Regions from separate parts of the Homo sapiens genome. Here region 2 is linked to region 1. The links are contacts of gene promoters, found by promoter capture Hi-C in human tissues and cell types (Jung and others, 2019). All regions are on one chromosome and are shown on one strand. Each heading gives the region's core, a stretch centred on a gene start or on the middle of the fragment in contact. The rest is flanking DNA. Distances are from core to core; before and after follow the strand shown.

Region 1 (4,038 bases), core at 418-2,917:
AATGTGGCACATATACACCATGGAATACTATGCAGCCATAAAAAAGGATGAGATCATGTCCTTTGTAGGGACATGGATGAAGCTGGAAACCATCATTCTCAGCAAACTATCGCAAGGACAAAAAACGAAACACCGCATGTTCTTACTCATAGGTGGGAATTGAACAATGAGAACACTTGGACACAGGAAGGGGAACATCACACACCGCGGCCTGTTGTGGGGTGGGGGGAGGGGGGAGGGATAGCATTAGGAGATATACCTAATGTAAATGACGTTAATGGGTGCAGTGCACCAACATGGCACATGCATACGTATGTAACAAACCTGCACGTTGTGCACATGTACCCTAGAACTTAAAGTATAATAAATATATATATACGTATATATATATATACGTGTATATACATACATATATATAAAACATTGAATGTGGGGAGTGCTTTATCCCTTTCCAAGTTAAGGAGCTTGTCTTTCTCTTCTACTTAACCCATGCTGTCCTGGAAGCATGCCCACAAACTCAACACCACACAGCCCACGGTCACAGTGCCACTTATCTTTCCTGTGAGGTCCTACTCCTTGCCTGCATTTAGTAGAAGGAATCATTCTTGGTACAAATCAACAGTGCGTGTCTGCGGTGAGAAGACCTTCTGGCTCAGTGTGAGTTTCAGTGCCTTCCGAAACCACTGGTAGGAAAAGACATAGATGATGGGGTTGCAGGCTGAGTTGAAGTAAGCAAACCAGATAAAGATGTCAAAGACCAGTGGGGGTGTGATAAAGTGAAGGAGGCTGTCGACCATCGTGTCTATGGTGAAGGGCAGCCAGCACAAGAGGTATATGCCCACAGCAATGCCCAGGGTCTTGGCAGCTTTTCTCTCATGCTTGGCAGCCCCAGCCAGGCTTTTGCTCAATGTGGTAATCTGCTGAGCCTGTCTGGTAGCAACCACAAAGATCTTCACATACAAGCTGATCATAATGAGGCAGGGGACAAAGAACAAAGGGAAGTTTAACCAGCCCCAAAATTTATTGAGCAGCAGCTGGCAACTGCCCACACAAGGCATCTCTTCCAGCCACTGGCTGAGCCTTGTCTCTACCACATCTGTGTAGAGGAATAACGAAGTGTATGCTGCGGGCACCCCCCATCCTGCCAGGATGTACCTGAGAGCCACCCTCACTGTGAACTTGGAGGGATAGAGCAGGGGGTCACAGATGGCACAGTGGCGGTCAATGGAAATGAAACAGAGATGGAAGATGGAGGTGAGGCAGAAGAGGGTGTCCAGGTAGGTGTGCAGGCGGCAGAGGAAGTCCCCGAAGAACCAGCAGCTCTCCACTGAGCGAATGGTGCTGAGGGGCAGCACCAGCAGACCCAGAAACATGTCAGCCAGGGCCAGGGAGAGCAGCAGGAAGTTGGTGGGCGTGTGAAGCGCTTTGAAGTAGGACACAGCAAATGCCACAAATACATTCCCTAGCACGATAATCAGCATGCCTGCTGCACAGGCCAGGTAGATGACCAACTGGATGCCCAGAGTATGTACTGTCCTGGGGCAAGACCCATTCACCTGGTAGCAGAATGCCGCAGGGTGCTCTTCAGCACCTTGGATGAAGACAGCTCTCATTTATGATTTCTACTCTTCCTCTGTCTGAGAACTGGCCACCTTCTCCACTGGAGGGCAAAAAAAAAAAAAAAAAAAAAAAAAAAAAAAAAATATGTCTGCTAAATAATCACAGAGTGAAACGAAGAGGAAGAAACTAAAGTACAGTTTGGAACATAGTACAGTGCCCCTGGGTACTGAATCAAATGTGCCCTGAAAATCAAATGCAGCATAGTATTCAAGGTTTCATGAGAGTTACTTCTGCTAGCTCTAGTTTATATGACTAGGCACTTTAAAACTAGTGTAGGTAGTATTCTTAAAGAAAGAAAAGAAGGATGTAAGCTGAATGTTTCCTCAAAGAAAGCTTGATTATATCCATAGGTAGTATTAAATAATAGAGAATGTCTCTTACGTTTTGATAAGGTATTTTTTGTCAAATGTAAAGTGAAATTTAAAGCAAAGATCTGAACCAAGTGACCAATTAATTCTTGTTAATAAATTATTCCTTGGAAAAAGTGTAACTTCTAGCTTCTCTCTTTAAGAATTACATACATTGACAATAAAGTTAGCAGATTAAGATTTTTAGCTACATGCCAACTCTTCCCAAGAGAAGAATTCAGCATGCAAATATTAATAATTAAAAGAGTAGAAAATTGCTCTATTTTAGCTTTAAATGCTGCACATTTTATGATGATAACACAAAGTGTTTACACATCTTGGTATAACTATTTGATAGGCAAAATGATTTTATCTATTTAACATCTTAATGTAAGTCTGTGAATTATTAACCAAGTCCTAATATATTGAATTCAGAGTTTCTAAGTTACTTACACAGGTAGGAATCAGAATCCCTTCCTGGGAAAAAATGTTTCTTGGAGCAGGTGGACACAGGGAATGTCAGAGTACTCTTCTGTTGGCCACAATGACAGGTGTGCAATTAGTTAACGATTTTATACTCTCAATAGAAACTACTCCTCCATGTGCTATGATACAAATAAGCTGTGAAGAGGCACCATGGGACCTAGTTTGCACTATTTGCAAGTCTCAGTTGTTTAAGGTTCCTCCTCAATACAGAATCACTTACCCTGACAATTAATTAGAGATAAAATTTAAAGACGGTGGATGTATATATTCTTTTTTAATTTTTCAGTTCTGGGATGTTTTGAAGGTATTCTTGCCTGCTAATGGCTGCTATATATTTTCTAATTTCATTTTTAGTGAGTTTCTTATTTTTCTTCTGCTTTAGTATTATTTGTGTATATTTCTCTCAACATGAGAAATAGTTGAGAATAATTGATCATGGGTTTTTTGGTTCATGAAGGGGTGGTTTGTGACTTCCACACAGGATTCATCATTATGTGTTTTTTGAGCACTATATTTTGTGATGGTGAAAGAAAGCATGGTAGATGAAGCAGTTCACCTGGAGGAAGAATAGTTAAATTCCTGTTTCATCCTTTCTTATGCCATACCTAACCTCTCTCTCTGCTTCCCCATTGGTAAGAGTAGGTACAATTATACCTGTGTAACTTGATTTCACAGGGATATTATCAAGGTAAATAACATGTTGAATCGTATTCTGCTCTCTGCCTCTTGATATCTTAGAAGCTGGTATGCCTCTTTATGGTTACAGAGAAACCATTTCACAGTATCAGTCAAACTAAAGTTGTAAAAATGACAGAATTCTAGAGGTGACACCAAATTACATCTGCCAGAGGGGCCTGGAAGAGGAGGTGGGGCAGGTCAAAAAGAAGGAAGGAGGTTGGTATGCACCTCTCCTTTCTCTACAAATCCATGGCTAAACCCAGTGTTTCCCAAGGCAAAGCTCCCTATAGCCTGGCTACCGCTGGAATCTTGCCTTATGCCAGCTTCATATGTGTGGAAATACATATCTGGCTCCAGAACTTAATCAGACACAAGGAAGGATATTGCATTACTAGGTACCTTGAAACCCCTTTAGCTTAAAAGTCATAATCCACATATAATTGGCCAAGGAGTCCTATGGCTTTATATTTAATTTGACCAAGAACTTGTGAAAAATACAAACAAATGTCCTGTAGCTGGAATAAGGCTGAAGAAGAAACAGGGAAAGGTTTTCTGTTCTGGGATAGATTACATCAGACCTACTAAAATGTAATATGTAACACAATTGTATGATCTCTATGTCTCAGATTACTTAACACCACTGTGTCCAGTTTTCTCATCTATTAATTGAATATAATACATGATCTGTGTCACAATCTTGTGAATATTAATGAGTTAAAATTCATAAAGTGCAGTCTCTGGCATGTAGAAAGTTGAGTTGGGCAGACAAGAGTTCGAGTGGATATCTAGTGCAGATAACTGTTAACCTTCCCAAGTTAGGGCTCTTATCCCTTCTTCCACTGACTTTTAGAAATACATTCCATTACATAACAATCACAGGCAAAAGTAATTGGATTCTGGATCTACT
Region 2 (4,038 bases), core at 479-2,978, 44 kb before region 1:
CCCCTCACCTAGGAACACTCTGACATTTCAGGCTGTGTTCAAGCTGTTTGTGCTGCGTCCTTTCCCATCAGTAATATGAGCTGTTAAACAATAACTACTTGCCAAATGAATTAAATTCTTCATATGGGAGCATTAACAATAAAACATACCATTCTCAGAGGGGTTCCCTTTTAGGTTGGTAGTGGATAAAGGTACAAGAGAAATTTTAAGAGATGTTCAAAGAGTAACAGTTTGTAAAAAGAAGAAAGTAACAAGGGTGAAGTTTTAGGAAGGGAGGAGTTATTTAAATGGGACAACTTTCTGGTGTTGCTCAATTAAGACCAATTAGGCAAAACCAAAGCTTCATCTATTAGGGAGTTTGTTTTCCTCTCTTCTGTCATCTAAGGCTAAGGGAGTTTATAATGCATCTGCTGTCCGTTTTTGGCTTCCACCCACATACTGAGACAGCCCATCTGTAAACCAAGCTTGTGTTTTTCTCCTCTTTAGTTTCCTGAAGTGTGAAATGGAGGGGGTACTGCTGCAAAGGCGGTAGGTAATGGGCTCTGGGCTCATGTTGCTCACATGTTCCCACTGGCCTTGCTTGTGTTTGGTCCTACATGCATCATTTCCATTGGAGGATCCAACAAGACCTAACTCATAATAGGCAGTTACAGACACATGATAGCTTGATGTCACATGGTCAAGCGTTCCATCACTTCCTGGGCTCAGTAGCTCACCAAGAGCTATCTTTCAAAAGGTATTTATCTTCCTTACTCTAGACTCCCAGAGGACTGCACTGTGTTTCTCTCAGTGGAGCCTCCCATAAAAAATACACTGCCTCTTTTTCCACTACTAATACCTTCATCACTGCAAGGTCGTCAAATTGTGACAGTTATTCTATAGCTTAGACCCACTGTAGAGCCATCTTCTGCTCCAGGCCCCACCGAGAGCTGGAAGAATTTAGTATTATCCAGTGTATGCACCAGAGTGGTATTCCTAAGCATGGAATATATTTTCTCAAGATCCTAAAGCGGTAAACCAAGCATTGTGCTTCCTTTTTTAGCTGTAGAGAGTACTGGATGTAATCATTTGTCTTTAACTTTGGATGGGACATCTCTGACCACTATAATGAAGTAGAGAGCCCCTCAATCTGCATAGAGGCTATCTCCAAACTTCTAAGAAGCATGTATCTTTCCAAGGCCTCTAGTGTGCTATTTACAAATTGCTTATCCTGCATGATCAGCATAATGTTATCAATGTAATAAATCAATGGTATCTAAAATAGGATGCCCAAGTGGTCCAGACTCCTTTGTTGAAGAGGGATCTAAACAGTGTCACTCTCTGGGTCTGCCATAAAGACACACTACATTATGAGAACATCATTTGAGATATCATATCAAGATATCATATCAAGATAGACAACAGGTTTTGGTTAATAACACATAAAACTTACTGAAAATGTTGGTAAATATCTGATGGACATCACGCTATTACCTAAATCAGGGTTTCTGAACCAATGCCATAATGATGTGTTGCAAATGGATTACACGAAGTCCTGGAGAAACTAATCCACTCAGTACTCAGGACAATCAGACTGGGCCCAGGATGGTCAGTGCTCTTGGGCTAGTACACTCTGGCTACTGAGTCTCTTCTGATGGTTGCCCACATTGAGCAAGGTCTGACAGTGTGATGCTTTTTCCGTAGGTGCCAGGTGGAATGAGCAACCTCCATCATTTGCTGTTTTTCCACATCATGCTAAGAAAGGGATATTTCTTAACACTTTTTGTAGTTGAGTTAATTTTTGAATTATTCATTTCTCCCTGTATTCACACCCTTTGTTATATAATTTTGCAGTTCTGCCCATGTGAGGCAGAGTGAGAGCAGAAGAGACAGTGTGCAAATTCTGAGCCTAGGCCTTATGATATCCTATTTCCGTTTGCTCTCTTGAACCTCTGCCATTGCTATGAGAACATGCTCAGGTAGCCAGCAGATCCAAGGAGGATGAGAGATACGTAAGCCTTGCTACAGCATTAACCAGAGCCAAGTCCTCCCTGTCCCCAGTTGCCATAGCCTGAAGTAGAGTCAACTCAGCTCAAACGCAGATATGTGAGAAATAAATGTTTAATGTCATATATGAGTGAGAATTTGTGGTTGTTTGTTACATGCAATAGTCAACCGATAAACGCTATACTATATTTTTACTATTTCAAAGCAAAAAATTGCACCAGACAAAGTTAAAGACAAGGAAGACTTTACTGCAGACAATTGCTACAGGGGAGAAAGGCCAGAACTCAACTCATCTGAGCTCAACTTCACTGAAACAAAGGGCTGAAAAGTTTTTGAAAGTTAAGGGAGAGGAGGTTGTAGACCACTTGTGTTTGCTAATGGGCCCCACCAAAAGGGAAAGTGAACTTTCTTATATCTTCATGACAGGAGGTAGTTTTCCAGCTTGGAGCAAGGCATCCCTTGAAGTTAAGACTTCTACCTTCCTACAGGAACTGGGAAATAAGGATGTTATCATCTTTCTTGATAATTACATTTCAAAGGGATGGCTCCCAGGACCTTGAGAAAGACATTCCTGGGTTATAAAACTAGCAAGAAGCTTTTAAAAAGACTTACCTCTCAAAAGCACAGAGAAAGAATTCGTAAATACTAATTTTCTAAAGTAAATGCTCTAAGAAAGGGTGGTCAGGAGCCTCAAGTCAGGAAGAAGCCTGTCTTAAGTTTAGTCAAGCTGAGGGGAACATTAAGGTTGACTGTCTTAGTCAGTTACATTAACTATGTTATATAAAGCAAATGTATGACTTTCATAAGATGTCTTATGTTGATACCCCAAATTCCCTCTGGTTTACCCTATTGTAAGGTACATATAATAAAGTGAAAAAGATTGGGGAGCATAGACTCAAACCTACCTGTGAATAAATTATTTTCCAGAAGGAGGCAGGCTCTGGGTATGGAGACGTCCACACATTCCATGGTGACTTGAAGGTTTACCTGTCCATCATCAGCAAGGCTGGGAGTAAAGTTTATGTTGCTCCCGCAATCAATAGCTGCCATTTTCTCACTGAGCTTCTCATTAGAGCAAACCTCTTCTTCCTTTACGTGTTGACTCTTTTCTGACCATCATTTATATCAGGAAATAGAGGAAAAAATGAGAAGTGGTGCTAGAAGGTATACTTCCATAGAAGGAAGATAGTATGCCATATTGAAAAGGCAAATAAAGTGAAAGATCATGTACTAGATTCTCACTCAATAAATGTTTATTTATGGACTACTATGGATTTTGCATTGAATTGAATGTTCTAATAGCAAATACAAAAGAAATAAAATAATACTTCCCATAATCTCATCTGTGGTTGGTGAATCACCTGCAGGTGCTTCTTAAAAACGTAGCTCTCAGGCTTCCATGGAAGGCCTCCTAAACACTATCTCCTAAGGAATCTACATTTGAGCCAAATATTAGAATAGAATTATCACCAAATAAGTTGTACTTGTCTTTGTCAAACTACTCTATAAAATACATTTCTTCTGGAATGTTTCATGTTTTGGTTGTTGATTTTATTTCTTTCTTATTTTCATTCAAATGAGCGGGTTTGTTTAGTTTTAGTTTTTATTTTTCATCTATTCTCCCCTCACCCAAAGCACACATTTAGTGCCTGGTAGTTTAGTTTAGTTTAGTTTAGTTTTGAGACAGAGTCTTGCTCTGTTGCCCAGGCTGGAGTGCAGTGGTGCATTCTCAACTCACTGCAACCTCTGCCTCCTGGGTTGAAACAATTATCCTGCCTCAGCCTCCCAAGTAGCTGGGAGTATAGGCATCTGCCACCACGCCTGCTAATTTTTTTAGTTTTTAGTAGAGACAGGGTTTCACCATGTTTACCAGGCTGGTCTCGAACTCCTGACCTCAGGTGATCCACCTGCCTCGGCCTCCCAAAGTGCTGGGATTACAGGTGTGAGCCACCGCGCCCGGTGCTGGTAGTTTTGAAGTTGTCTTGATCTAGCCCTGAAGTTTCCCCAAATACGACCCTGCTCTACAATGGTGTTTTCAGTTCCTGTTCTGCT

The links. Contacts are between HindIII fragments. The study calls those that stand out against the background at their distance.
Region 2: a contact is called between a fragment that was not itself captured here and the fragment with the promoter of TAAR5 in region 1, in 1 of the 25 tissues and cell types used here (psoas muscle).

What each region holds. Positions count from the first base shown.
Region 1 is chr6:132,588,074-132,592,111 of GRCh38, forward strand. It overlaps TAAR5 (trace amine associated receptor 5), which reads right to left and starts at 1,668. Exons shown (of 1, transcript NM_003967.3): 1 at 519-1,668. The coding sequence starts at 1,613. The coding sequence ends at 600. The HindIII fragment of the contact is 8,704 bases long and covers 1-4,038 here.
Region 2 is chr6:132,543,811-132,547,848 of GRCh38, forward strand. No RefSeq gene overlaps it. Among named protein-coding and RNA genes, the nearest start is that of TAAR8, 6.8 kb to the right of the region's middle. The HindIII fragment of the contact is 4,293 bases long and covers 1-3,875 here.